Linked DNA regions of Homo sapiens: region 1 is linked to region 2. The links are contacts of gene promoters, found by promoter capture Hi-C in blood cells and fetal thymus (Javierre and others, 2016). All regions are on one chromosome and are shown on one strand. Each heading gives the region's core, a stretch centred on a gene start or on the middle of the fragment in contact. The rest is flanking DNA. Distances are from core to core; before and after follow the strand shown.

Region 1 (2,700 bases), core at 103-2,602, 110 kb after region 2:
AGCCTCCCGAGTAGCTGGGATCACAGGCACCCGCCACCACACCCGGCTAATTTTTGTATTTTTAGTAGAGACGGGGTTTCACCATGTTGGCCAGACTCGTCTCGAACCCCTGACCTCAGGTGATCCACGTGCCTCAGCCTCCCAAAGTGCTGGGATGACAGGCATGAGCCACCATGCCTGGCCAAGACTCCACACTTTTTAACCATGAATTTAACCATAAGACTCTGGGCAAAGCTCTTTGCAGGGCCTCTGTTTCCTTGTTTGTAAAGTGAGAGGTTTGGGCCATTTTCATGTTGTTCCCCAAAACTCTAGGGCTCTGGGAGAACCCTGTTATGGTTCCCCAAGGAAGGCACACTTTGGTCAGAGTGGCTTTGTAATTATTGGGATTACGTATTCATCCCTTCGACAGCTGGCCTTTCCCCAGAGCTAGGCACTGGGGAGCCACTGGGGGACAAAGTAGTCAAGGTCTCTGTACAGCGGGAGCTCAGAGCCTGGGGAGAGCAACAGGCAGGAACTGGATAACCGTATCCCTCTGTGTCTCCTCTAGTTGCAAGCTGGTGCCTGTGCTTTGAATCAGTTAGCTGGGGGGTAGGGGTAGGGGTGGGGTGGGAATGCTGCAGGCTGCATGAACAGCAAGTGCAAAGGCCCTGAGGCAGGAGGCTCAGTGTATTGGAAGGACTCAAGGGAGGCCATGGGCAGTGGCACAGCAGCAGGAGGAATGTGGGGCCGCACGGACCTACTGAGTTCTCAGGACCCCAGCCCTCCTGAGGCTGCCGTGCTTTATCATAAAGGCAAGGCCAAGCCATCAGTGTGTGCGAGCAGGAGGTAATGAGATCAGGCGTATTGGGCATCTGCTGCTGCTGCTGATTTCATGTGCACGGTGGTGTCCGTGGGAATCAACTCTGAAGAGCCCAGGGCCACGTGACCTCTGGCTCCTTGTGGCTCCAGGGTCTGGTGAGGATCAGAGGTGCGTGGCCCACATGAGGTCGTTGAAACCTAGTACTTTGTATCTTGCATTTGGGATGCTGATCCTCAGCCCCTCTGGCCACGCCGCACCATGTTCCCCAGCTTTGGCTGGATGTGGGGCCCAGGTTGTACTCCCAGAGCTTGGCCTGCCAGTAGACACTGAGGATTTTTATTTTTTATTTTTGGTATGAAAATCAAGTATTCGGCCTGGGCTGTTGGTTGCTGTCCAACAAGCCAGGATGAAGGAGGAGCTCTTGGGGTGGTGCCCCGTGCCTCCTTTGCAGGTGCCTGTGCTGTGTCCCTGCCCCTCTGCCCTCCCTCTGTGGGCTCCAGTCAGTCCCTGGTCAGGCTGCTTAGAGGGGAGTGATGTGGGCTCCTCCAGAAGGGCCCAACTTCTAAATCTTTCTCACTCCAAAGTCTGCGGTTTTGCCAGCTCAGTGTCCCGCCCCCACCACCATCTGATTATACTGGGGCATATTTCGTGCAAGGCCTAGAACAGGCACCCAGGAAATACTGATATTATGAATGAATGCCCCTGACTCCAGGGGCAGCAGTCCTGAGGCCCAGTGAGGTGGGGCCCAGCCAGACACTTTCCCTGGGAGGAGTGAGGGCCAGGGGACAGACAGAGCCCTCCAGGTAGGCCAGGGGGAGCGAGCAGTGCCTCCACGGAGAGGACACCAGGCTCGGGCACGGAATGCCAGGGAGAAGGTGCTTTGCCCTCTTTCTGGGTCAGGTGGAAACCTTGAACAGACACGTCTGTGGCTGGAATTCCTCAGGTTTCTGTCCCGACAGTGTCCAGAGGACAGAAGGCTCTCATCGAGACGGGACTAAAGTGGGGCCCAGCTCCCTGGGATCCCCATGGCGAACTCCCAGCGCCCTGGCCCAGGTTTGGGCCCACAGGGAACCCTCGCCCTTGCTGGCGCTGCTGCCTGTGCTGGCTCTGCCCCGACCGGCCCAGGAGGCAGGGTGTCATCAGTGAGATTCAGCCTGCGACTTGTCCCCTGGGTATTCCTGGTGGCCCCTTGGAGCCCAGGTTTCTGGCAAGCAGCTTCCCTGGGCCCAGTTTCCCAACCTCCTTGTGGTCTGAAGCCCGCAGCAGAGACACCCAGGCAGGGTGGAGTCGGAGCTGGGGTGCAGGAGGGGCCTCTGTGGAGCGCCGTGGCTCCAACACCCTTTTCCTTGGCGTCACCCACGCTGGCCTTCCGGGTGCCTCGGGGCGTCAGCACCTTGGGGTTTTCCCCTGGCCTGTGTGGGGAGAACTGTCTTTTTTCTCCCTTCTTTCCAGGAGGAGCTCATGCAGGGATGGGTTCTGAGGCCCGGGCCGCCTCTTGGTTCCCTGCCTGTGCTTTGCTCCCTGCGGAGTCCTCCGAGGCTCCTGTCTGCCATCTCCACGGACCAGGCCAGGGCCTTGGGCTGTCTGCACAGGCTCCTCCTCTGTGTGGTCAGCCCTCACCCCCACCCCAGCTGCTCAGTCTGTTGCCTCCTGCCCCCTCCTCATGAAGCCCACCCTCTGGTGCCCGCCCAGGCCCCCATGCCCACTCTCTCATGGTGACTAGCCCCGAGCCTGCCCAATGTCACGGAGCCCTCGCCTGCTACTAAGCAGCACGTAGGCGCGCTCTGAGGGAGTCCTCAGCATCAGGTGTGAGCAGACACCACGGGCATCCCCACTTTCCAGACGAGGAGCCAGGCCCTCAGAGGACAAGTGACCTAGTAGCCAAGGCCACGCAATAGCAG
Region 2 (2,700 bases), core at 201-2,700:
GTTCACCTGCAGCAGCCCTGGCTCCTAGGCTGCCCGAGACGTTCCATTCATTCTTCCTCCACGTGGCATGGGGAAGCTTTTCCTGGCCCCCTTGTTTAGAAGGCAGATCTCTACCGGAGAGAAGGAATCTCAAGTTCCCCAAGCATCCACGTGTCCAGGCCCCAGGCTGAGGCCTGGGGTGCTGGATTGCTGAGTGGTTAGGAGACCCGCTATGGAGCCAGACGGCCTGTGCTCCCGCCATCCCAACTCGGGCACCTCCCTGCTGTGTGATCTTGGGCAGGTTAATTCTCATCTCTGAGCTACATGTATCTGCCTTAAGCTCCCTCTTCTTCATCACCACATTCACAGGGAGTATTTATTGAGGGCTTGGCAAGTACCAGGCACTGGTCTGAGTAGCAGGTTTGACTTCTCTCCACTGCCAGGGGCGCTCTGGAGCTGGAATGCAGACGGTGGTCAGCGAGTGTAATTACTGTTATTGTCACCACTCACCCTTCTGGCATTGTAAAAGCCTCCCAGCACATCTGACTGAGGAATCATCTATCCTCATTGCTCGGAGGAGGAGGGCAGACAGGAGCCTCTGCAGGGAGTGTGAGTTATCCAAAGCCTCCTGACTCGAGAAGGGCACTGAACCCCAGCAGCGGGAGGTGCTGCTGACAGAGGAATGACCAGAAGGGGGATGGGGCATGGTCCATTTCCACACTTCTCTGTCTGAGCTTTTGGGGCCACTGGGAATGGCTCTTCACCCAGGCCTCGGTTTCCCCTTTGGCTCAGCAGATGGATTAAAGGAGGCCGTTTCCAGAAGCCCCTGGGGTCTCAGAATCCAAAATGACTTGGGATGTTGAAACTGTGGGTGCTTGAGGAGCACTGAGAGGGGAGACGGGTCACCCCCCGGGGGGACGCAGGTCAGCCGGTCAGTCGTGCGTGGCCTGGCTGGCCTCCTGCCCGGCTGCCTGTCACCCGCTCCCTCCCGACTGCCTTCCGCTCTGCCGGTCAGCACTGGCTCCCGTCGGCTGCCAAGGAGGCTGGACTCTCCTTCAGGAAAGGGCAGTTGTCGCCCTGACCTGGGGGGTGGGCGGACAGCATCCAAGGGCCCTGTTGCCGTGGCAACCCCGGCCTCTCTGTGGGAACTTTGGGGAGACTGGCCCTGGGAGGCGACAGATGGAGGCTGAGGAAGCAGAGTGATCCCCGGCCCCTTCCTGTCCCTGAACACTGTCTGCCTGGATGAGGGGTGAGGCTGAGGTGCCCCCTTGCCCGGCGCTGAGTCATGGGCATCCCCCAGGATCACTGCCTCAGCGCTCTCAGCCCTGCCCCCTCCTGGTCTCCCTCTGAGAAATCCATGACTCACATATATCGTCCGTCATCCCCAGTCAAGCTCAGGGAGGAGGGAGGAGCCCAGCTGGGGCAGGAGAGGGGTGTCTCCCCACCAAACAAACCCGGTCCCTCCCTCTCCGCACTAGCTGTCTGCCCTGCCCTGCCGTAGGAGATGGGCTGGGAGCCTCCCACGCTCTCCAGCTCACTCGGCAGGCAGCGGGGACCAGGGCTGGCAGGTTAAGCCTCTGGGGGTGGATCCTGAAAGGTGGTCCAGCCGCCTGGCCCTGCGTGGGACCCTCCACCTGGCAGCAGGTACCCAAACAAGGGCTGGACAGCAGGTGGGAAGGGGAATAGTGTGAGTGTGAGAGTGTGAGTGTGTGAGCGTGAGTGTGTGAGAGTGTGAGTGTGTGAGTGTGAGTGTGTGAGAGTGAGTGTGAGTGTGAGTGTGAGCGTGAGAGTGTGAGAGTGTGTGAGTGTGAGTGTGTGAGAGTGAGTGAGAATGTGAGTGTGAGTGTGAGAGTGTGACTGAGCGTTTGAGTGTGAGAGTGTGAGTGAGTGTGTGTGAGTATGAGTGTGAGTGTGAGTGTGGGAGTGTATGTGAGTGTAAGTGTGGATGTGTGCATCCGTGCACGGGTGGCTGTTGGACAGTGGGTAGGGATGGTGGTGAAATGGGGAAATGGGGGGGTCTTGGTATCTTGGTGGGATCTAGTCCAGGTCAGCATGGCTGTGGGTGGGTCTCTAGAGTGGGGGCGGACCCACAAGGAGATGCCTGGGAGGGGACTGGGGCCCAAGGGGAGCGACACCTCCCGGGGCTCCCAGGCATTTTGTTGCTGGAGAAACTGAGGCTCAGAGTGGTACAGTCACTGGGCCCAGCAAGCTGGGGTCTGCTCTTTAGGCTGTGAGATCAGTGCTCCTACTACACAGATGGGAGAACCGAGGCTCTGGGAGGGCAGGTGGCTTGCCCAAGGTCACCTAGCACATCCAGGTATAGAAAGCCAGGGGCCAGGCTCAGGGAGGGGGTGGCACTTGAGGGAACTCCTGAGGACAGCTTTCCTGCAGCTGTCCCTGGGGCTGGGTCCGGGGTCCCCACTGAGCAAGGGACAGCCGTGCTCTTCATCACCAAGGCCAGCTTTGGGAGAAGGTGGCCCCGCAGGGTCTCTGAACGTGGGCCACGTGGGTGAGAGTCCTGGAACCGGTGACAGGCAGACGGGGAAGCGCAGGCTGCGGGCTGAACACCCTGCCCGTTGCCACCAGACCTCAGGGCTCCATCTGCCTGGCACTGATAGGACTTCCCACCCTGGTCCCCGCGGGGGCTGGGAGTGTGTAGGAAACCAATGATTCCTGTCCTCCCCCGTCCCCAACCCACCTCCCCTGCGTGGTAGAGTTGGG

The links. Contacts are between HindIII fragments. The CHiCAGO score rates a contact against its expected background, and 5 or more counts as called.
Region 1: a fragment that was not itself captured here is called in contact with the fragment with the promoter of ADGRG1 in region 2 in 1 of 17 cell types (megakaryocytes); the score reaches 5.2 in megakaryocytes.

The regions. Positions count from the first base shown.
Region 1 is chr16:57,738,373-57,741,072 of GRCh38, forward strand. All of the region lies in intron 2 of KATNB1 (katanin regulatory subunit B1), which reads left to right. Among named protein-coding and RNA genes, the nearest start is that of KATNB1, 4.0 kb to the left of the region's middle. The HindIII fragment of the contact is 6,249 bases long and covers 1-2,700 here.
Region 2 is chr16:57,627,180-57,629,879 of GRCh38, forward strand. It overlaps ADGRG1 (adhesion G protein-coupled receptor G1), which reads left to right and starts at 1,451. Exons shown (of 14, transcript NM_201525.4): 1 at 1,451-1,623. RefSeq lists enhancers at 632-1,287, 1,288-1,943 and a silencer at 1,493-1,562. The HindIII fragment of the contact is 3,448 bases long and covers 75-2,700 here.